7 separate regions of the Homo sapiens genome follow, and all the other regions are linked to region 2. Evidence: promoter capture Hi-C in 16 types of primary human blood cells and fetal thymus (Javierre and others, 2016). All regions are on one chromosome and are shown on one strand. Each heading gives the region's core, a stretch centred on a gene start or on the middle of the fragment in contact. The rest is flanking DNA. Distances are from core to core; before and after follow the strand shown.

Evidence for each region. Contacts are between HindIII fragments. The CHiCAGO score rates a contact against its expected background, and 5 or more counts as called.
Region 1: a contact is called between the fragment with the promoter of NCMAP here and the fragment with the promoter of IFNLR1 in region 2, in 12 of 17 cell types (naive CD8 T cells, endothelial precursors, activated CD4 T cells and 9 more). The highest score is 8.6, in naive CD8 T cells.
Region 3: a fragment that was not itself captured here is called in contact with the fragment with the promoter of IFNLR1 in region 2 in 1 of 17 cell types (endothelial precursors); the score reaches 5.9 in endothelial precursors.
Region 4: a contact is called between a fragment that was not itself captured here and the fragment with the promoter of IFNLR1 in region 2, in 11 of 17 cell types (naive CD8 T cells, total CD8 T cells, total CD4 T cells and 8 more). The highest score is 13.7, in naive CD8 T cells.
Region 5: a fragment that was not itself captured here is called in contact with the fragment with the promoter of IFNLR1 in region 2 in 1 of 17 cell types (total B cells); the score reaches 5.5 in total B cells.
Region 6: a fragment that was not itself captured here is called in contact with the fragment with the promoter of IFNLR1 in region 2 in 1 of 17 cell types (total CD4 T cells); the score reaches 6.0 in total CD4 T cells.
Region 7: a contact is called between a fragment that was not itself captured here and the fragment with the promoter of IFNLR1 in region 2, in 2 of 17 cell types (naive CD8 T cells and total CD8 T cells). The highest score is 7.7, in naive CD8 T cells.

Annotation. Positions count from the first base shown.
Region 1 is chr1:24,554,671-24,558,124 of GRCh38, reverse strand. NCMAP (non-compact myelin associated protein) reads right to left here and starts at 2,038. Exons shown (of 4, transcript NM_001010980.5): 1 at 1,956-2,038. It overlaps NCMAP-DT (NCMAP divergent transcript), which reads left to right and starts at 2,101. Exons shown (of 3, transcript NR_109781.1): 1 at 2,101-2,309. The HindIII fragment of the contact is 15,304 bases long and covers 1-3,454 here.
Region 2 is chr1:24,185,494-24,188,977 of GRCh38, reverse strand. It overlaps IFNLR1 (interferon lambda receptor 1), which reads left to right and starts at 1,689. Exons shown (of 7, transcript NM_170743.4): 1 at 1,689-1,787. The coding sequence starts at 1,730. RefSeq lists a silencer at 1,427-1,916. The HindIII fragment of the contact is 11,665 bases long and covers 1-3,484 here.
Region 3 is chr1:24,517,783-24,520,807 of GRCh38, reverse strand. The region is part of intron 2 of RCAN3 (RCAN family member 3); the gene reads right to left. Among named protein-coding and RNA genes, the nearest start is that of RCAN3, 16 kb to the right of the region's middle. The HindIII fragment of the contact is 1,714 bases long and covers 868-2,581 here.
Region 4 is chr1:24,636,504-24,639,960 of GRCh38, reverse strand. No RefSeq gene overlaps it. Among named protein-coding and RNA genes, the nearest start is that of SRRM1, 5.1 kb to the left of the region's middle. The HindIII fragment of the contact is 1,720 bases long and covers 1,167-2,886 here.
Region 5 is chr1:24,538,402-24,541,836 of GRCh38, reverse strand. It overlaps RCAN3 (RCAN family member 3), which reads right to left. Exons shown (of 5, transcript NM_013441.4): 5 at 797-3,435. NCMAP-DT (NCMAP divergent transcript) reads left to right here. Exons shown (of 3, transcript NR_109781.1): 3 at 1,961-2,563. Among named protein-coding and RNA genes, the nearest start is that of NCMAP-DT, 16 kb to the left of the region's middle. RefSeq lists an enhancer at 484-778. The HindIII fragment of the contact is 2,630 bases long and covers 871-3,435 here.
Region 6 is chr1:24,588,028-24,591,305 of GRCh38, reverse strand. The region is part of intron 1 of NCMAP (non-compact myelin associated protein); the gene reads right to left. Among named protein-coding and RNA genes, the nearest start is that of NCMAP, 34 kb to the right of the region's middle. The HindIII fragment of the contact is 8,325 bases long and covers 1-3,278 here.
Region 7 is chr1:24,658,857-24,661,985 of GRCh38, reverse strand. It overlaps SRRM1 (serine and arginine repetitive matrix 1), which reads right to left. Exons shown (of 17, transcript NM_005839.4): 10 at 1,187-1,267; 11 at 590-676. Among named protein-coding and RNA genes, the nearest start is that of SRRM1, 17 kb to the right of the region's middle. The HindIII fragment of the contact is 543 bases long and covers 1,297-1,839 here.

The sequences.
Region 1 (3,454 bases), core at 789-3,288, 370 kb before region 2:
TAGAACTTTGCTTCTCACATATTCGTGGTCAACCCAGGGAGATGGAAACCCACTGCAGCTGCCTGCCAGGACGTCACAAAACTGAAACTAGCTTTGCTTAGAGTGGCTCTACCTCAAGGACACAGCTCCTTCCTGACTTCAGGCAGGAATGGCCATAGTCCACATGGTGCTACGGAGCCCAGGAACTGGCCCAGGGGATAAGCTGTTGATAGGAAACCACTACACTAGATTCCCACAGAGCCCAGCCAGTTCCTCAAGCCCAGCTCACTATATGCCCAGCTCACCGCACGCGCCGCGGCTGGCTGGCTTGGCACCATGCTGCCTCCCCACAGCTCATCTCGGCCCCAGCCAGCACAGAGCCCAGCAGGGACAAGGTGAAGAAAGCCACAGGCCATGAAGGGGTCATGGGAACCCCCTTCCCATTTCCTCCTCCCCTCCCACCAGGCATTCATGGTCCTTTGGTGTCTCTTGGCTGCCCTTCTGTCCCCTCTCCCCACTTAGAGGACATGAGTAAAGGTATTGGCCTACCTAGAGTTCCTGCCCCATCATCCACTCCCACGGGCTGATGGGACTCAGGATTCCAGGGTATTATGTGCCCTCTTCTATCCCGGTGCTCTGGCTGTGCCTGTCACTTTCTACTACCACCACCAACACACACACGCACACACACGCACACACGTGCACACACCCACATGCACACACATGCACACAAGCGCACACACACACACATGCACACATACACACATGCACCATAAGAGGGGGTGCCTATAATCTGTTGCTCTTGGCTTCTGCTTATAACTGTTCCATCCACCTAGACCACTGTCTCTAGTATCCATACCCACCTCTTAGAACCAGCCATCTGTAAATTCACTATTTGTGCCAAGCATTGTACTTCATATGCATTCATTCATTCATTGGACAAATATGTATTGAGACCTACTGCATGCTGGGCACCGTGCTGGTGCTGGGGATACAAGGGTGAACCAAATAGGCATCATCCCTGCCCCCAAGCAGCTGCTAGCAGACATTAATAGCTCATGTTCATTGAGTGCCTACTATATACCCACCCTGTATTAAACACTTTATGAGTTATCTGATTTAATCTGTCAGAGAAATTGTTTCATTTAAGGAGCACATCAAACTGAAACATAGAGAAAAGTGTGGACTTGCCCGAGACTGTTGGACGGCCTTGGCTGAGGGGTAAAGCAGGGACTCCAAAGCGCTGCCCTAACCACCACCTTTCCTTTCCCTGCCCCACTCAGATGCCACCTCCTCCAAGGGGCCTTCCAGAATCTTCTCCCAGACTCAAGGGCTGCCTTGGTCTCTCTAATCCAGCCTTCATATTTGACACAGCCATCTCCTCCCACAAGGATACCCAGAGGACTGGAGCCGTCTCTGCATCCTTCCTCAGGAGCGCTGCTGGATGAGCGACCCCCGAGCCCCTCCAAACGTGCTGTGGATGGAAACTACGGCCCTGGGCTCCTTCTCTGCCGTGGGTTTTCATCTCGCTGAATCGCAGATCTTCCGGAGGGGCCTCTGCATAGGGCAGACCCATCAAGGCGCCCATTTAACAGATGGGGCGGATAAGGCCCCAAGTGGGTAAAAGTTCCTTTATCTCCAGGCCGGGTCAAGGTCGACTCCCTTTTCTTCCAGCGAGCCTCGGCCCCTCCGCCAGATGCTTGGGTGGGGAGGGGACAAGGAAACGACCTCGTCTCCAAGACCCACTGGAGATGATCAGCCTCCCTCCCACCACCCCGGACCAACGCCCTCCCGCGCAGACCCCAGGCACTTCCTCCAACAGATGTGGGGGTGAGACTGGGGACCCCTCGTCCCCACCCCCGGGCCCTCCTTCGCCCAGCGCGGCCGGCAGGTGGACAGGAAGCCACCGCACCTGGGCCGGACCGCTCCTCGCTCCCCGCAGCCCCGGGCAACCCCGGCGACCAGGCGCCTCCTACCTGCTCTGTCGAGCCCCGCTCGGCCTCCCGCCGGCACCGCCGCGCTCCCAGCCAGGGTCCCCGCCGCCGCCCGGCGCTGCCACCCTGGGATCCCGCCCCCGCCCGGGGCGTCCCGCCCCCGGCCCCGCCCCGTGCAGGTGATCCTGGGGAGGCCGGAGAACGCGCCGGGGGTGCCAGGGTCCCGCACACTGGAGTGGCGGCGCCTCCCCGTGGTGTCCCCGCTCCTGGGTCCTTTTTGGGACTGGCTCTGGCACTCCCGGGCACTCAGTCCAGTAGAGAAGTCCAGCAGGAGGCTTCCAGGTCGGACTCCTCCGCGGGGTAAAGAGAGGGAAAGGGCCTCACAAACACACCCAGGTGAGCTCCAGGCACTTTGAGTAGGGTCTTTAAAGGAGCACGGCGCTAATCTGATTGAAGGTTTTGAGGGGCAGCTGGAGATTCAGACAACCACAGAACGTTAGACCGGGAGGAAACAGGCTTGGCAGCCGGCAAGTGTCAAGAACTCTTGCCGCTGTAGGATCAAAGGCTCCTTCCTCCCCAGGCTGTCGAGATTCCAGCTGTATCCCAGGAGCCCAGGGCGATATCCCTGGCAGGCAGCGGGTACTCAATCAATATTTATAGAAAGCGGGAAGAGATCTCGGAGAGGGGATCTCTTCTCTCAGAAACAGGGAAGCTGAGGCCCAGGAAGCAAAGGTGAGCACAAAGTCTTATAGCAGGTTAGTAACAGTATCAGGAGTGGAGGCTGGTTTCCCGGTTCTATTTTCAATTGATTTCCAGAAAGTGATTGCATCTGGGCCGACTGCCTTGCCGCTCAGTGCCTGTGAGATGCTTTCAAACTCTCCTCAGCTAAGAACTAAGATTTTTATAGGAAGAAAACACGTATTTTTATAGGAAACTCCAAGGTAGTATTTATTTATTTATTTATCTTTGAGACAGGATCTCACTCTGCAGCCCAGGCTGGAGTGTGGTGGCACAATCTCGGCTTACTGCAACCTCTGCCTCCTGGTTCAAGCGATTCTCTTGGCTTAGCCTCCCGAGTAGCTGGGATTACAGGCACATGCCACCACACCCGGCTAATTTTTTTGTGTGTGTATGTATATATATATTTTGGTAGGGACAGGGTTTCACCATGTTGGCCAGGATGGTCTTCAACTCTTGACCTCAAGTGATCCACCAGCCTTGGCCTCTCAAAGTGCTGGATGAGCCACTGCTCCCAACCCATTTTATTTTATGGAGACTGGGTCTTGCTCTCCTGCCCCAGCTGGAGTGCAGTGGCGGGATTTCGGCTCACTGCAGCCTCTAACTCCTGGGCTCTAGCGATCCTCCCACCTTGGCCTCCCAAAGTACTGGAATTACAGGCATGAGCCACCATGCCCAGCTGCAAGGTGGTATTAACAAATATTGATTGAGAGTATAATCCTGTAATTCTACTTTCTCATCAAAGACTTGAGACACTTGAGTATGGTCTTTAAGGAGCATGGTGCTAATCCATGGCTTCAAGA
Region 2 (3,484 bases), core at 440-2,939:
GGCCAGGCACAGTGGCTCATGCCTGTAATCCCAGCACTTTGGGAGGCTGAGGTCACCTGAGGTCAGGAGTTCAAGACCAGCCTGCCCAACATGGTGAAACCCCATCTCTACAAAAATTAGCTGAGCATGATGGCAGGTGCCTGTAATCCCAACTACTTGGGAGGCTGAAGTGAGAAAATAGCTTGAACCCAGGAGGCGGGGTTGCAGTGAGCCAAGATCACACTATTGCATTCCAGCCTGGGCGACAGAGCTTTTGTCTAAAAAAAAAAAAAGAAAAAAAATCCTGATTAAGCAGAAGCCTTGATGCTAGTCCCAGAAGCATCCTGAAATTTCCAAAAGAAATTTCCCCCGCGGTTAAACTCAGAGCAACTTTTGGACCCACCAAGCTCTGTGAAAATCATTTTCTCTTCCAAAAACTGATGGGACCAAAGCTGATCCCAGTTTCAAATAATTATCAAAAAATTGGAAACGAAATATGATCAGAAAAGAAGAAAGTTGAAAAAGAAAATCCTCATCACCCAAAGACAACAACCATTAATATTTTGGTAATTATTATTCCAAATATCTTTCTATGCATACAGACAGACTCACACACACACACACACACACACACACACACTTTTTTTTTTTTTTTTGAAACTGAGTTTCACTCTGTCGCCCAGGCTGGAGTGCAGTGGCGCGATCTCGGCTCACTGCAACCTCCGCCTCCTGGGTTCAAGCGATTCTCCTGCCTCAGCCTCCCTGATAGCTGGGATTACAGGTGAATGCCACCACGCCCGGCTGATTTTCTGTATTTTTAGTAGAGACGGGGTTTCACCATGTTGGCCAGGCTTGTCTCCAACTCCTGACCTCAGGCGATCCACCCGCCTCACCCTCCCAAAGTGCTGGGATTACAGGCGTGAGCCACCGCGCCCGGCTACACACACACTTTTTTAATGGGCCTATGTTTTAGCACTCGCTTTTCTGTTTCTCAGTGTGTTGCAAACACCTCGGTGTCGATACACACCATTCGGCAACGTCCTCCTAAAGGGCCGCATAATATTGCGCGTCGTGGCGTGTGCCTTACTGGGAAGCTACTGCTGTCCAGGTGAACACCACAGCCTTCGGGGTCAGAAAGACAGCTTTCCCCAGAACAAGCACCTGAAGCTCTGGGGCCTGCCGCTCCCCGGGAGAGAAGTACGTGGAGAAGGGCAGCACGGATCCGCCGGGATCCCCGGGGGCATTAAAGGGAATCGCGTGTGTAAGGCGCGGAGCTCAGCATCCGGCTCAGAAACGCGCTCGGATCCCGCCAATGGCATTGAGGCCGCGTAGCCAAACCGGCCTTGAACTCTCCCTAATCCTGCCAAAATGGCCCGTCCTGGAGCACTGGACTGGCCGTGGGTTATTGATCATCAGCCGGTTTCTTCCCCTCCCCTGCCCTTCCCCCGTGCACGGATTTACTGATTTTTTTTTCCGGGAATTGAGTAAAACAAAACTAAGTGCAGATGAAGCAGAGGTACGGGCGAGTTTCGAGCGCGGGGACCGGCGCGCTCCCCCCCCCCCCTCCCCCCGCGGCGGGGCTGTCCCCAGGGACCTTCTCAGTGAATCCTAGGCGGCAGGGACGGGCCCGCGGCTCTGCGGGCCATTGGCTGCCGACTGCGTCACCTGCCCGCGGTGGGCTAGGAGACGGGAGGCGGGAGGCGGGAGGCGGGGACCTGGGCCCGGGCGGGGACGCCGCGGCAGGAAGGCCATGGCGGGGCCCGAGCGCTGGGGCCCCCTGCTCCTGTGCCTGCTGCAGGCCGCTCCAGGTAAGGGCGCGGGGCCGCGGGAGGGAGGGGGAAGAGGGCTCCCCGGGCCGGGCCGCGCCTACCCTCGGACCCGGAGCTCCTGGGACAGGCACGGGGTCCGCAGCCACCCGAGCCGGGTGCGAATCGGCCCTGCCTACGCGCCCCCAGTTTGCTTCTTCCCAGGACTGAACAGAACCGGGTCTTTGATATTCCTCTCCCGCAGGAAACGAATCCAGTTTCCTAATGCTTCCAGCTTCAGGAGAACTGGAGAAAAAAGACAGCGGCAGTTTGATACTGCATATTTTTTAATAAAGTGCTTTTTAATGTTTCCTAAAGAAAGCACTGATCCCTGCGTGAAAACCACACTTGACCCTAAAGTGTGGACAGCAGGGAAAGTGGGACCGATTGATGTCCCTTCCCGTTCCTGCCAGGCCTCTGGTGGGACGGAGCTCTGGTCGCCTGTGCCCTGCTTTCTAACAAGACGGCTTTCTTTTGGTGGTGGTTGTTGTTTTGTTGTTGTTTTGTTGTTGTTGTTGTTGTTGTTGTTTTCCCACCTCTACTGATGAGTAAGGTGTCAGGTACAAAATTCCTCGCCGTAGGACCCAACCACCAAACCTCACCGCCCACGACTCCAACCGAAGCAGGGAAGAGAAGGTCCAGAAATCGCCCCCAGGATATTTTCCTAGTCTTGGACTCACAGTTTAAAGAGCTGTAAAGGTCCCTGGGCATAATCCAATCATCATAAAAGCCTATATTTATTCAGCAACTTCTTTGTGCCAGGCACCGCATTATTCTGGAAGCCTCACGACCCAGCCATCCTCGGAGGTAGATATTATTTTTACTTTTCCGATGGGAAAACTGAGGCTCAGAGCAATTCAGGGAATTCCTCAAGAAGGATGGCAGAGGTGAGGCACACAGAAGAGAGAAGAGGGGCTAAAGCAAGCCTGGCTAGCTTTTGCCTCCAGGGTAGGCACGTGGGACAGGCTGTCCATCCACTGGGTCACTAGGCCAGCCAGGGATGCTCCAGCCCCCAGTGCCCACAGCAGCGTTCTCTGTGGCTGATGAGGGACCGTGTACCTGTGTGTGGAGGGAGGGTGGGGTCTTCTGTTCCCCTTTCACTGTCAAACCCAGACCTTCTTGTACTTTCACCTGATAAGTATTTAATATACACAACACTAACTATGGTGTGATGATTTAGGAGTAAGTACAGCCAGATCTAAGTTCAAATACTGGCTCCCACACAAACTGACTGTGTAGCCTCAGGCAAGTTAGTTAGCATCTGTCTCTGAGCCTAGCGCCCTTTCCATGGAAGCAGAATGAATGACACCTACCCCATAGGGTGGTCTGTCCCAAGGGTGATTGAGGTTTTACATGTAAAGAGCCAAACTAGTGCCTGGCATCCTTTGAAGGCTTCATAGAGGAAAGTTGCTCTAACTGCTGTTTTTCTCATGTGACCTAGCTCGAATCTGGGGACTGTCCTGCCCATAGGATACCTTACAAGTGGCTTGCAGACAGCCTGGTCTCCTGCTGGTCACCCGTTAGGAAGTCCAGAAGCTGGGAGTAGTAATAGCACTAGCCTCGTGGTGATACAGTCCCAGCTAGAGGACACAGGATGAGGTGGAAGCAGGCACCCACTTTTGGGTCTAGAAGGTGATGGGTAGGCAGCCGAGGCTGGGGACAGCCATCCACAGAACTGGACCCTCCCTCCCTGATGCCAT
Region 3 (3,025 bases), core at 475-2,974, 330 kb before region 2:
TGTGTACAACGTGCAGGTTTGTTACATATGTATACATGTGCCATGTTGGTGTGCTGCACCCATTAACTCGTCATTTAGCATTAGGTATATCTCCTAATGCTATCTCTTCCCCCTCCCCCCACCCCACAACAGTCCCCGGAGTGTGATGTTCCCCTTCCTGTGTCATTGTGTTCTCATTGTTCAATTCCCACCTATGAGTGAGAACATGCAGTGTTTGGTTTTTTGTCCTTGCGATAGTTTGCTGAGAATGATGGTTTCCAGTTTCATCTATGTCCCTACAAAGGACATGAACTCATCATTTTTTATGGCTGCATAGTATTCCACGGTGTATGTACTGACATCTTAATGTTATTAAGTTTTCCAGTCCATAGATACGGATGTCTTCCCCTTTATTTGTGCCTTCTTTAAATTTCTTTCAACAACGTTTTGTAGCAATGTCTATAACTCTAAACCCACTGTATAAAATACAGACTTGACTAGGATTTCTTAATTCTAAACTATGATTCTCTAGTATTTAATTGAGCCTCAAAGCTAACTAAATTACTAATTCTTGGCCAGAACAGCACTATAAAACCAATTAAACAAACACTTAGTGAAACCTTAGGATGTTTCATGCTCTGTTAAAAACACAGTTAACTATAACAGAGATATTCTTCCTTTGAATCCTCTTTTTTAATTCCCAAATTTAAAACATCACTTTCCTTAAAGGATTCTACTTTTTCTGGGCTGAAGGCTATGCTAGAATGTACAAACAATTGATTTAGTCTAAAAATCATAAGATCACTTCACTCAGCTTCCAAATATCATTTACTTTTCTTAAATAATATTTTTGATACTTCTTTAAATGGAAGGTACAGAATCAAAGCTTGAAAGGAAGATTTAAATTGTGCATATGATTATACAAGCCACAAAAGAATTTAGGCCAGTGTATCTGGGAGCATAATTTCAGATTAAATCTCCTACGTACTATTTTGCCTCACTCAGCTCACAATTCTGTTTCTCGATCATAGCATTGCATCACTAAGCCTCAACAACCATCTTACAGAATCCATTCATTCAACAAACATTTAACAGGTGTTGCTTTGCACTGGGAACTCAATGAGATGCTCAGTGTCACCCATCACAGAGCAGGACAGCAGAACAAGTAGTGATGTCTTAATATCCCTCAACCACCATAATCAGAAACACAAATCAAATGTCCTATGGTGAGGAGGTCAGATAAACAGTTTTATATACAAAGGGCAGTACTTTGCAAGGGGACTAGATTCTACTGCATTTCTTTGTACAGGATGTCCTGCTGAGAAGACTGCTAACACTAACATTTACTGAGTCCCCTCAAACACCAAGACCTAAGGCAGAAAAAAACAGTCCCATTTCTCATGTTATAAAAACCTAAATTATATTTTGAAAACTCCTCATGTTCAAACCAGAAGCAAGATTAATTTGCTTCTGGAGGGGTCAGGCATGGTGGATCACACCTATAATCCCAGCACTTTGAGAGGCAGAGGTAGGAGGATCGCTTGAGCCCAGGAGTTTGAGACCAGTCTGGGCAACATAGCAAGACCTTGTCTCTTAAAAAAAAAAAAAAAAAACATCAGGCCAGGCACAGTGGCTCACGCCTGTAATAACAGCACTTTGGGAGGCTGAGATGGGCAGATCACTTGAAGTCGAGAGTTTGAGACCAGCTTGGCCAACATGGCGAAACTCTATCTCTACTAAAAATACAAAAATTAGCTGGTTGTAGTGGCATGCACCTGTAGTCCCAGCATTTTGGGAGGTCAAGGCAGGCAGATCATCTGAGGTCAGGAGTTTGATACCAGCCTGGCCAACAGGGTGAAACCCTGTCTTTACTAAAAATACAAAAAAATTAGCCGAGCATGGTGGTGGATGCCTGTAATCCTAGCTACTTGGGAGGCTGAGGTGGGAGGATTGCTTGAACCCGGGAGGCAGAGGTTGCACTGAGCTGAGACTGCACCACTGCACTCCAGCCTGGGTGACAGAGTGAGACTCCATCTCCAAAATAAATAAATAAATAAATAAATAATAAATTAGCTGGATGTGCTGGTGCATGCCTATAGTCCCAGCTACTCGAGAGGCTGAGGTAGGAGGATTGCTTGAGCCCAGGAGGTCAAGGCTGCAGTGACCTATGATCATGCCACCACATTCCAGCCTGGGTGACAGAGCAAGACCCTGTTGCTTTTTTAAAAGACAGAGAAAAAAAAAAACTGGGGTTAAAGACAGCAAACAAGCAAATACAATCACATTGGGACAAATCCAAATCTGTCAAAGAAAAATGAAGCACTAAGCCTGTCGCACTCCTGATGGAGCTATTGATTAGCAGAGTACATGCATAAAATTAACAACCCTATAGCTGAGAAATATACATTGAAAGATAAGTCCTTTTCTCCACCTATTTTTCTTACAGTTTATTTTTCTATGATTTATTATCCCTCCAACACTATTTTTAAGAAATATTGATAAAAACATAGAGCCAAAATCTAATGATCTAGAGCAAAGATTACATTTACATGATAATGGCACCTGTGTTATTTATTCTACTATTCGGAAGAATGTAAAAGCTTACTCCAATAGTTAGAAGCTTATAAAGACAAAAACTTTTTCAAGCTGGGAAAAAAAAATTTTTTTATAGAGATGGGGTCTTGCTATGTTGGCCAGGCTGGTCTCGAACTCCTGGGTTCAAGCAATCCACCTGCCTCGGCCTCCCAAAGTGCTGGGACTATGGGTGTGAGCCAATGTGCCCAGCCAGAAATTATTTTTTGAAATTAAAGTGTTTAATTGCAATCGGGATTATTCTGCCTGTAATCCAACAAAAGCAACTGTTTTATTTTTTGCACATTCATAGATAACCTGAATAAACAGCTGATTTCAGGAGAAACTACAACAAAATAAGACACTGATAGAAGAAAAATGTAAAGGAAACATTTGATTCTGCCCATATCTTAAAAAATGTTTCTTTAATAGAAACGAGGTCTCACTCTGTTGCCCAGGCTGGTCTCAAACTCCT
Region 4 (3,457 bases), core at 777-3,276, 450 kb before region 2:
ATTCTGTTTTGGGCTTCCTTCACTGTCTCTGTCTGTTTGCTGTCAATCCTATAAATGTTGTTTTTTCTGGTAGTTCTGTCATTGACTACTTTTTCCCTCAACAAAGGTGCCCTCTCTGACCTCTCGGTTTTGATTACCTTTCATATTTCAAACCTGTGTATCTCAGGCACAGGCCTGCTCCAGACCTATATTTTCAACTTCCTGCTCACCTATTCACTTGGATGTCCCATAGGCACCTCACACTCAACATACCCTAAACTGAATTCATCTTCATCCACTTGCCTTCAACCTTCTGGTTTCCCATTCTCAATGAATGAGCCCACCTTTCTTTCTATCATGATTCTTCTCTCTTCCTCACACTCTACAACCAACTCTTGCCTTTTCACCTCTCTTAATAGCTTATGCCTCCCTCTCCTCATCCGTTACTTCTAAGTTGCAGCCACAATAAACTACAGATGCTTGTCTGATTATGAACAGATTTAGATTTCGAATGGCAATTTATTTGTCTATATATTGGTAAGCCTAAAATGACTAAGAGATGATTCAAATGGCACCTCTTCATCAAGCCTTTTCTGAACAACCTTCCAAAAAGGACACCCTCAATCCCCTCACTCTGTCTTACCTTTTTCTTTCTTTTCTTTTGGAGAGAGGGTCACTCTGTAACCCAAGCTGGAGTGCAGTGATGCAATCACAGCTCATTGCAGCCTCCTTAATTTCCCCAGCTCAAGCAATCTTCCTGCTTCAGCACCCTGAGTAGCTGGGACTACAGGTGTGTGCCACCACACCCAGCTAATTTTTAAATTATTTTTTAGAGACGGGGGCTTTATTGTATTGCCCAGGCTGGTCATAAACTCCTGGGCTCAAGTGAGCCTTCCACCTCAGCCTCCGAAAGTGCTGGGGTTATAGTCGTGAGCCACCATGCCTGGCCTATTTTTCTTTTCTTTCTTTCTTTTTTTTTTTTTTTTGGAGACAGGATCTCACTGCGTCACCCAGGCTGGAGTGCATTGGTGTGATCTTGGCTCATTGGTGTGATCTTGGCTCACTGCAGCCTCCACTTTCTGGGCTCAAGTGATGCTGCCACCTTAGCCTTCTGAATAGCTGGGACTACAGGCTCACACCACCACGCCTAGTTAATTTTTGTATTTTTTTCTTTTCGAGATGAAGCTTCACCGTGTTGCCCAGGCTGGTCTCAAAATCCTGAGCTCAAGCAATCTACCTGCCTCATCCTCCCAAAATGCTGGGATTACAAGCACGCACCACTATGCCCAGTCCTATTTTTTATTTATTTATTTATTTATTTTTTTTGAGACAGAGTCTTGCCATCTCCCAGGCTGGAGTGCAGTGGCCCGATCTCGGCTCACTGCAACCTCCGCCTCCCAGGTTCAAGTGATTCTCCTACCTCAGCCTCTTGAATAGCTGGGACTACAGGCATGCACCACCACGCCTGGCTAATTTTTTGTATTTTTAGTAGAGACAGGGTATCACCGTGTTAGCCAGGTTGGTCTTGATCTCCTGACCTCGTGATCTACCCGCCTCAGGCTCTCAAAAAGTGCTGGGATTACAGGCATGAGCCACCGTGCCCAGCCCCTTATTTTTTTTTAAATAACACTTAACATTTCCTGGGATTATTATCTATTTTGTTTATATGTTTACTATCTTCTTCCTTTTTTTTTTTTAAATAAAAAAGCTCTATGTGGGTGTGGATTTGCCCATCCTTGGAGCTCAATAAACATTTGTCGAAATGAGTATATGAATGAGAGTCTAAGGCTGGGCATCATGGTTCATGCCTGTAATCCCAGGACTTTGGGAGGCCAAGGCGGGAGGATTGCTCCAGGCCAAGGGTTTGAGACCAGCCTGGACAACATAGTGAGATACCCCCAACCCCACTGCCCCACCTCTATTTTTAAAAAAGAGTCTAAGACTCAATTTCCAAAAGTATTTCTATCAATGAGTGTCTGTTGGTTAAAATGTTGCAACCACTGATTCTATCAGTAAGAGTCTATACCGGAAAATCTGCTGAGGCCGATGAGCTGCCTACCTGATGATCCCTGCAGATGCAGTGGATAACTACTTGGCAGTGAAAGTTTTTGCAGACACCACCTGTTGCTCACTTTGATGCTGGGCAGATCAAAATAGGTGTTGGCTGGGCACGGTGGCTCACGCCTGTAATCCCAGCACTTTGGGAGGCTGGGGCGGGTGGATCATTTGAGGTCAGGAGTTCAAGACCAGCCTGGCCAACATGGTGAAACCCCGTCTGTACTAAAAAATACAAAAATTAGTCGGGCAGTGGTGGCACACGCCTGTAATCCCAGCTACTTGGGAGGCTGAGGCGGGAGAATCTCTAGAGCCTGGAAGTGGGAGGTTACGGTGAGCCAAGATCGCGACACTGTACTCCAGTCTGGGCGACAGATTGAGACCCTGTCTCAAAAAACAAAAACAAAAAAACAAACAACCAAAATAGGTCTTAATGCCGAGAAGCCACTCCTAGTGAACCTACCATGGCTCTTTTGCTGGGTCTGCTCTTTGAATCCTCAAACTCTGAGCCTCAGAAAGCTAATAGGCATCCAACCTTGGTGCCGATCGTCAAGGCACAGACTCAGATTTTTCCATTTCATCAACAGCTTTTCCTCATTGCTTGGTGATTGATGTTGATGGTTTAGGAGTTTCACCTGTTGCTTGTTCCCTGTGTTCTTCAGAATCCCTCCTACCGAACATTTATTCCATAGGCTGGGGCAGGTTTTATACTTTTCTTATTTTTGTTATCATCTTCACTTTTGTTTCCATCGTTTGCCTCTTCCTTCCACTTCTGCTTTTGTGTTTCCTGGATACAACAGGATTAACAGTCTTCCTAAAGTACTTCAAAAATGTGTAAAAAATGTATAAGCTTAAATTTACCAAGGAAGCTGTGGAATCCAACCAATAGCTCAGATGAAAATGACTGAAGAATAGAAACAGATGCATTTGCTCCAGGAGATATTTTTGAGCACATTAGTGAGTATATTATCTATTGCCGCATAACAAATTACTCCCCACATTTAGCAACTTAGAACAATAAACATTTGTTATCTCTCATTGTTGCTATGCATCAGGAATCTGGGGAGGCTAAGTTGGGTGATACTGGCTCAGGGTTTCTCAAGAGTATATAGTCAAGGTTACAGTCAACTGGGGCTGGAAAATATATTTCCAAGAAGACTCACTTATATAGCTATTGGCTAGAGGCCTCAGTTCCATCCCACAATGATAGGGCATCTTTGGTTTCCATGACATGGCAGCAAATGATCCAAAAGAGAGCAAGACAGAAGCCACAATGTCTTTTGTACCATAACCTCAGAAGTCATGCACAATAGTTTTCATAATATCCTATTGGTTACACAGGTTACCCCCATTAAGTGTTGGAAGGGACTACAGAAGGACATCAATATTATGTCCTTCTGTAGCAGGGGGAGGGTCATCGGGG
Region 5 (3,435 bases), core at 936-3,435, 350 kb before region 2:
CGACAGAGCAAGACCTTGTCTCAAAAACAAAACAATATCAAGAACCTTTTTATCCAGATACATTTATCCAGAAAAATTAGATTTTGGTGTAACAAAGTAGTGGAGTGTGGTAGAAAGAATGTCAAGAAATGGGTTCTAGTCCCAGGTCCATGACCATCCAGATGTGTGCATTTGGCAATGCCTCTGGGGCCACTTTCTTGTAAAGGTGTGTTGGGGGTGGGGTTGGGATGGAGGAGGAAGTGGAGGGAGGCAGGGGCAATAGAGGGGTGTGTCTGGGTCTGTTCTGCTGAGCTCTCACAGGGGTTGAACTCAGGTCCCCATTCTTCCCCCAGCCCCTTGAAAAGGAGCAGCTTTGTTTACCTTTCCTTTTTGTAATAGTTTTACATTGGCTTTGTGTAAGATTTCATTTGAACAAAGAGCAGAGTCCTATGGCTTAAAAATAAGTATTCGAAATCCCACTGCACTAGATAACCTCTACTGTCATTTATAGTTCCACATTTTGGAGATTTTTTTTTTTTAACCGAGACAAAAAGTAAGTCTTTACCCGGAATAAATCATTTTTAACCAAAGGGGAAACCAGGGTAAAAGGTTTCTTGGGGAAGAGCTGAAAGTGCAGTGGTTATTTACAGAGTGAGCAGTGACTCACCACCTTGAACTCTGGCACTGCACGGCATTAATGTTCAACAGGACTCTTGTGAAAGGAACAAACACAATATTGCACTTCTCTGTCTTATTAGCTAAATGTAAGTGATGCGTATTGAAAATACTACACACAAAAAAACTCAACTCAATGGACTGATTTAAAAATAGTTACTAACTTTATTTGTATTCGTTTTAAAAACAGAACTTGTTACAGGTAATCACGAAGCTTCCAAAAAAAAATTACATTCTGCTTTTGTCATCTTGATAGGACAAGGAATGTTTAGATGTCCTTAAAACACAGGGTAAAGTTGACAAATAACAAACTACTACAAACTATGGATTGTCACTTCAAGCACACTAAAATGTGGAATACATGTACATAAATTACTGACCAGTTTTTTGCAATACAAAGAGTATGCACTACAGCTTATATACCATAAAGGTAACATGCCCCAAAATATAACAGAAGATCACAAACACGTTCGGAGAAAATAATAACTTTGACTCTTGGGTTCAATTAAGATTGAAGTGAAATGATTGGGAAAGTTTTCTGAAACTTGAAGGGCACGCACATTATAGCAGAACCGTCAATCAACAATCACGTGGGGTTGAAAAGCAGCAAGAAGAATATGGCACGGTAACAGGGGTAACCACCTTTCTCTCTCCTCAGTCCCCAATTTGAGTTAGGAAGATTGAGGACTAAACAGAAAACAGTATTTAAAAACATGTATTATCTGCATAGATAGAAATCTTCCATTACGATGAGAGTGAACATTCGGTCAAAGCTATGCAGGAGTGCCAAGAGTCTGCAGGATATGATTCTGTTTCAAAAGGAAATATATAGGTTTACATCCAGACAGACCACATAACGAATTTAGTGAAAGATCTTTACGCTGTTATTTAAGTGGGTAGAGACGCTGACTCAGCCCCAGGTTAGTTCTTGACCTTGGCTAAAAACTCTACTTTGAACGTGATGATTTTTATAATCTTTGTCAGTGAACCCAGCAGTTGTTGCTTTCAGTTGTCTTATGGATTGTACATTTGGTAATAAGAAAACAGTCTCCAAATGATTAACATTTTCCCCTGATTCACAATGAAACAACGGCATTCTGACGAAGATGATCCATACACCGAGGGGAGTTTAAAAGACAAATAAGTATTCAGCGAATTGTAGGACAAGGTTCATAAATCTTTTAAAACTTTTTAAATAGTGAGTTTCTGTAACATGGACTTACAGCTCCAGCTAGGAAGCAACTATTGCCCCATCTTTTGTTCCTTTATATTGTCACCCCAATTATAAATAATTTGTTTCTTTTAGTACAGGAAGATATAAATGCAAATGTGCAAAAAAAGGAAGAAGGAAAGATGGACCAAGTTCACCTGTTTGGTACGTACAGGGTCCACAGCTCTGCAGAAAGGGGAGAAACCTGGTAGACAGAGGGCCTGACGCACCATAGCATTGAGCACATTTTCCACTGCTTAATTATGTGTGAGATTTTCCCTTTTAAAATAAATCTATGGTCTGTGAAATAGTCTGTATAAAAATATGAAGCCTTGAATAGGCCAGTCATAGCAGTTCCGTCTTGAATAGAACTCAATTTTACAAGCACGGAGTGAGAGTATCATTCCACTGCAAACTCTTTTATTTCCACAACATATTAGATCTCATTCTGCTTTAGTAGAGTTACCTCTTAAGTACGACTATTAGTCATTTCATTAATATGAAAATCTGGGAAGGCCCACATAAAATACCAACATAATTGCTGGCTACCAAGATAAAATTATTTAGGCAGATTCCAGCCCCAATGGTTCAATGATAACAAAACTACAAAACATGGGACATCAAATTCATTAATAAAATTATTAAGTCACCTCTTCCATCGAATGATGAGATTTTTCTTATTCACTGTTTCCCATCAGGGAAAAAAGAATCCTCCCACCTCATGCCTTTTTTTTTTTCTGATGCCAGGAATTAGTATTCATTGCCTCTTTAAGAGGCCAATGCAAAAAAAGGTAGAAAAAGCCCTAGCCCAGGAGTTGGGATTGCCAGTTGTAGTCCCTGGGTTGCCTTGCTGGGGGTGCCTAAGTCAGTGCCATAACCTCAGTTTTTCTAATCTGTGTAACATGGGGATAGAGTATATGATTTCCAAGGTCACTTTCACCTCTGTGATTGAGCCTCTAAGAAAGCCAAATCTTTTCACTTTGTAATCATGACATTTTTAAAAGATGGAGTTAATATGAATGGGAAACTTTTTTTTTTTTGAGCCAGGGACTTGCTATGTTGCCCAGGCTGGTCTTGAACTCCTGAACTCAAGTGATCCTCTCACCTCAGCCTCTCAAATAGCTGAGACTACAGGCACACACCACTGCACCTGGCTAAAGACTATATTCTTAAAGAATAAAAGTACTGCACTTCACCTCTATCTCCTGGTATCTCTTCAATTCAAACACACCATTAATGACTACAATATTTTATTTAAGGCCGGGCGCAGTGGCTCACGCCTGGTTAATCCCAGCACTTTGGGAGGCCAAGGCAGGCGGATCACTAGGTCAGGAGATCGAGACCATCCTGGCTAACGTGGTGAAACCCCGTCTCTACTTATAAAAAAAAAAAAAAAAAAAATTAGCCGGGCGTGGGAGCGGGCGCCTGTAGTCCCAGCTACTTGGGAGGCTGAGGCAGGAGAATGGCGTGAACCCGGGAGGCGGAGCTTGCAGTGAGCCGAGATCACGCGGCTGCGCTCCAGCCTGGGCGACAGAGTGAGACTCTGTCTCAAAATAAATAAATAAATAAAT
Region 6 (3,278 bases), core at 409-2,908, 400 kb before region 2:
TGACAGAGTGAGAGTCCATCTCAAAAAAAAGACACAGCCCAGTCCCCAGTCGCCCCCCAAGGAAGACTCCTACTCATACTGAAATAGAGATTCTGTCCCCTACCCTCCCACAGCAGCTCCCTGCAAAGAAACATCACCAAGGCATGTGTCCACTGCTTTGTCTGCCATTAATGCTACATTTCATTGTCAGGTCCTTGAGGATGGAGACTATTTCTTGTTCTTTCTCATATCCTTTTACCTTCCTCAGATAAAGTGTCTGGGTCTTCTCTCCTTCGCCGTGCAAGGGCTGGAATGAGTAACTGAATTTCTCCCAGCTTCATTTGCTCATCTGTAAAACGAACTGCCTCTCCCTTTCCCTAAGGGAGCTGAGAGTGAGAAGTGGGGTATGGAAAGTGTTTTTCAGTGTTCACTAAATGGCAGCTCTAAGTATTATAGTGAATATTAGTAAATATTTGCTGAACTAACTTAGAGACAGGGAAATCTGGAGCTGAAAACTAGGAGACATTCTTTCTATAAAAATAAGCACAAATTAGCCAGCCTGGTGGTGGTGTGTGCCTGTAGTCCCCACTACTTGGGAGGCTGAGGAAGGAGGATCACTTGAGCCCAGGAGTTTGATGGCACAAACTACAGTGAGCCATGATGGCACCATTGCATTCCAGCTTGGGTGACAGAGCAAGACCTTGTCTCTAAAACTAAATAAATATAATAAAATTTTAAAAGCACAGACAAGTATGAGAATTTGGAATGAAAGCCTTTCCCACCCAGCACTGCCCACCTCTACTCTCAAGGGGAGATGCCGGCCCTGCCTCAGTACGTGAAGGGTATTAGCATGCATTTCCCTAAACCTTCTCCTTCTAGCCTCACCAACATCAAGCTAAGAAGACTCACCAGTGAGGCTTTCATACAATTCCTTTTAAATACAGAAAAGAGATACAAATAGGTGGCTGCGGATCAAGGTTTGCTTAGTGAGAGAGACATGGAACAATCATTGGCCAACCCAAACCCATGGACATATTCACCGTGATACCAACACGCACAAAAATGACAGAAGCCACCATTTGAGTGTTTGCCGTGTGCCAAGACCTTGTGACAGATATTTTCTATCCATGCCCTGATTCAACTAGCAAAATGCCATGTAAGATAAGTTTTCCTTTCCCCTTCTCTCAAATGAAGACCCTGAGACTTGATAATATAAAGCCAACTCTCAGCCGGGTGCAGTGGCTCACACCTGTAATCCCAGCACTTTGGGAGGCCAAGGCGGGTGGATCACTTGAAGTCAGGAGTTTGACACCAGCCTGGCCAACATGGAAAATTAGCCAGGTGTGATGGCAGTTGCCTGTAATCCCAGCTACTCTTGAGGGAGGCTGAGGCAGGAGAATTGCTTGAACCCGGGAGGCAGAGGTTGCAGTGAGCTGAGATCTCACCATTGCGCTCCAGCCTGGGTGACAGAACAAGACTCTGTCTCAAAATAAAAATAAAAATAAAAACATAAAGCTAACTATCCACACTTACGTAGCCCCAAAGCTACAGAGCTGGTTTGTGAACCTGGGTGTTGCATGTGGCAACGTCTGCATCCTTCCTACCACACCACCCTGTCCCTGACACACACTGGTGGGGTCTATGACCAGTCACTGCAGGAATACATGGAGGCACACACATGCACACACATACACACACTGACCAGTAATGCAGCCACCTAAGGCCACCAGGACACAGGCTCCTCTACAGGTCCTGCAGGGGTGACCTCCTGGGTGCCGAGTTCCAGGTGCAGACTGTCTTTTGGATGGGCCCAGTAGCTCTTCTCTCTCAGAGAACAGTGAGGAATCTCAGAGCATATCTTGCCTCATCTCGGGACTGAGGGCTCTCAATTGCATCTCTGTCCCTGCTGCATCAGAGAAGGTGGGAGGGAGGGTGGTAGCACAGCCATGGCCAAGCATGTGGGTGTTTTCATGTGTGGGGCCCCAGCAACAGTTGTTAACCAAGTGAGGGCCAGCAGGAGCACTTCAGTATCAAACGTCCCTAAGACCAGGGGCCATGACCATAGAAAACACAAAGAGGACAGGGAGAGGGAGGCCAGTCTTCACTGACAGAGGTTAATTTAATAATAATAATAATGCGCTATGTGTCCGGCACCGCACTCGGTGCTTTATGTTGGAGATCTCACTTAATCTTCATACCAGTCCTGTAAGGAGGGCACAGGCACTTTGTCCATTCTGAAGATGAGGAATCTGAGGCTTGGAGCAGAGAAGAAACTGCCTTAACTTCACAAGGCTAATATGAAAACTATGCCAACCATGCCAGGATTCAAACCAGGGTCTATCCGATTTCACAGCCCCTTCTTCAAAAACCCTCCCAGCAAATCCACAAAGCACAGGTGGCCCAGCATCCAGGGCCCAAATCAATGTGGGGCTTTGATGAAAAAACCCACACAGGCCAGGGTTCAGCAGACAGACGAGGGCCCTTGCCCCAGGCCTATGACCCTGACCCTGACTCCTACCCAACTACTCCTGCCCTTGGCCACACTCTGAGCCTCTGTGTTCAGCAGAGCCTCGATCACATTTACAGAATCTACAAGGGACTGTTGTTTTCTTGGGTTGTTTACAAAGGCCTGTGTGGGAGGCGAGTTTGGGAAGTGATGGCAGGTCATAACCATTTATTCACGGATCCATCCTTCTCTGACTAGCTCTTGGCCAAGTCTAAGAGCTGAATGTGGAAGATAAACGCTGTCAGACTCCCACCTGTCCAAAATATCTCCCCTGAAGCTCTGCCCTAGGGGTACCCCCTCTCCCTCTGGCCTGGCTTACAAGTTCCTCCCTGGATAAGACAATAGAGAGACTACCAACCCCGGCAGACCTCTCCTCAATTGACCACCTGTAACTCAGAGCAGGTAACCCACGAAAGCCCTCGACCCACCAAAACATTGGGATTGATTTCTCCCAATCTCCTGAGGGATGGGAGATTCAGCAGGACTTGATCTCCTCCACAGACAAGTGGCTCACTACTCCCAAGCAGCTCCTGGAGATATTGGGATGTTTTAATGGTCAGAAAATTGACCCTAAGGCCAGGTGTGGTGATGTGAACCTGTAATGATAGCTACTCGGGAGGCTGAGGTGGGAGATTCGCTTGAGCCCAGGAGTTTGAGGCTGCAGTGAGCCATGATCAAGCCACTGCACTTCAGCCTGGGTGACAGAGCAAGATACCATCTCAAAAAATTAAAAGGAAAAGAAAATTGAGTCTTTTCCTCTCAGAAGTCCCATCTTTCTCACTAAAGACAGAGC
Region 7 (3,129 bases), core at 319-2,818, 470 kb before region 2:
GCCTCCCAAGTAACTGGGATTACAGGTGTGCGCCACTATGCCCGGTTAATTTTTGTATTTTTCGTAGAGATGGGGTTTCGCCCTATTGGCCAGGATGGTCTTGAACTCCTGATCTCGGCCTGCTCACCTCGGCCTCCCAAAGTGCTGGGACTACAGGTGTGAGCCACTGCGCCCAGTCTAGATTTTTAATAGGGAAAGATGTTCTAAATATACTGTTAAGTTAAAAAGTGAGGCAACATATCTACAGTTGAGCTTCTGTGGGGTTTTTTCTTTTCCTTTTTCTATATGCACAGAAAATTTCTGAATAAAAGCTTTAGGAGGTTGGAAAAAGAATGATACGTTTCCAATTTTATACTTCTGTTTTCTGTTTCACTATTGTATCCTAGGGACCTATTACTTTTATAACAATGTAACAGAAAATTAAATTTTGCAAAAGGACTTAAAACCAAAAAAAGAAACAATCCTGCCTCCTCAGACAGATTTCTATGTAGGCAAGTAAGTACTCATGCTGCACACACAGATGTTTATATACCAAGTATTTTTTAATAGGAAATACAGGTAGAAAAAAAACTTTCATCACCATCCATACCAGATGAAGACTGCTGGTTTTGTCGTCTGTATTGGCGTCTCTGCTGCACAGAATCTGCTGCAGCCATTTTGCCACCTTTATCTTCTTCTGAAAGATGGATGCATTTAGAAAGTGTTTCTTTAGTTAAGCATATAGAAAATTTGCAATTTGAATAGGAAAATAGTCTCTCAAACCTTCATTTGGTTGGATCAAAAATACAACTACTATATATTTTTTTTAAAAAGAGTTTAAAATGCCAATTCACAGGCTGATTTAGACTATCTTCACCAAATATAATAAAATTTATTTAGGCATTTACTACAGGTCAGGCTGGTGCCAAGCATTTTACAAGCAGATACAGTTAACTGTCAAAAACCTCTACTGTCCCTATTTCGGAGATGAAAGAAGAAAGGCTCAGATAAGTTAATTAAAACAGAAACAGTTAAATTCTGGAATGGGGGATTCCACCCAAGTCTGTCTGCCTTCAGAGTCTTAGCTCTTACCCTATACTTAATCTTCAAGCAGAAGGGGATGACCAAATGTGCAAAAAATCAAAATCAGCTTTAAGAAAAACAAAAACAAACAAACCAAAATCACAAAAAAAAACAACAAACTTACCCGATTCAGATAACTCTACTTTTCTAGGCTTCGGTGCTGGTGAAGGGGATTCTCTTTTCTCAGTACCTTTATGTTTTGTCACTAAAAAAGAATAAGAGTGGAAAAAAGCTTACGTACAAAAAAAGGTCTATACAAGATGCTTTTCTTTTAATTTTTAAAAATTTATTATTATTTTTAAATAAAGATGGGGTCTCACTATATTAGTCAGGCTAGTCTTGAACTCCTGACCTCAAGCAATCCTCCTGCCTGAGCCTCCCAAAGTGTTGGGATTACAGGCACAAGCCACTGTGCCCAGCCAAGATGCCTTCCTGCTATTACAAAAATGGGTGTGACTACTCTCAAAAAGAATTTATGAAGACTTAAAAAATTCCTGTAAGACCTTGTTGTCATATCTGAACATTATCTGAAGTGAGACAAGAATTTTTAAATGTTTAATGAAAAGCCTCAAAAAGTTCTACAATGATTTTCAAATCTTGAGATTCTCCCAAGAAAACCAACAGTTAAAGGAAATTGGGAGCTGCTACTGAGTAGAACAAGCTCAGTAAAGTAAACCTCTGTGTGCTACACGAGCTCCACAATCTAAAATACACACCCTCCACACCCACACTCACTCCCTCACACTCAACTTCAGAGACTTCATCAACATGAAAGCTTTTAAGCAACCACAATAGGTGGGTTCAGAAAAGTAAAAGATGATAAATGATTAAGAAATAAGATCTCATGAAACTTTCACAAAGATATTTGGTCTAGAAAAGAAGAATGACTGCCCAACAGGTTAAAGGTTCTTTATGTAGAGCATAATCTTCACAATAGCACAGGGGATTTAAACTACCCATGAAAAAAAGCAGACCGCCACAAATAGTAAAAATGATTAAATACAAAGACGAGGATTCTTTCCAAAGAGCTAGAAAGAAAAAAAGGCATTTCTATACCTCAAGTAGTAGGAGAGCAGTGGGTATCCTATGAATTATCCAATTGTCTTTTACCAATAACATAGAAATATGGTAACTACCTTTTGTAAGCCTGCTGTATTAGACACACTATTAACACAGTAGTATCACATCCCTTTCTCCCTGTTCCATTTCACAAGAGAGGAAACCTGAGGCTTAAAAAGAAGCAACTTCACCTCAGTCACAAAGACAATTTAAGTGAGCTAAGATGTGAATCCAAGAATCTATTTTTAGGCCATGGGTTTTAATCTCAACAACTAACTCTGCTTATAGTATCTATCCATTGCTACAACTAAAATCATAAGTATATTCACATATAAACATATATATACCATAAATTAACCTAAAACACCACTTGAGAACATCCCAATAAGAAATAAACCTACAGACAATTTGATCCTCTCAGGATCCTGATACCTGTTTTGTGTGATTAAAGCAATTGCCATGGAATGTTTGACTCAGAATACAGATACATCTCATTTAACAGACACTCACATTCAGAATTCTGTAATGGTTTATTCCAAGGGGCAGTAATTAGAGAACCAGTGATCTAACACAGTAATCGCATCTTTGCTAAAGAAGTCAAAATGAAGAATTTACCAGTATGCCTTTTCAATGAACAGACTTTTCCCTTTCTCTCTCTTTTTTTTTTTTTGAGACAGAGTTTCGCTCTTGTTGCCTAGGCTGGAGTGCAATGGCATGATCTCGGCTCACTGCAACCTCCGCCTCCCGGGTTCAAGGGATTCTCCTGCCTCAGCCACCTGAGTAGCTGGGATTACAGGCATGCGCCAACCACGCCCGGCTAATTTTGTATTTTTAGTAGAGACAGGGTTTCTCCATGTTGGTCACGCGGGTCTTGAACTCCCAACCTCGGGTGATCCACCCACCTCTGCCTCCCAAAGTGCTGGGATTACAGGCGTGAGCCACCGCGCCCAGCGACTTTTCTTAAAATTTCTACGTAATAAGCCATTTGGACAAATCACTGGATTGGGT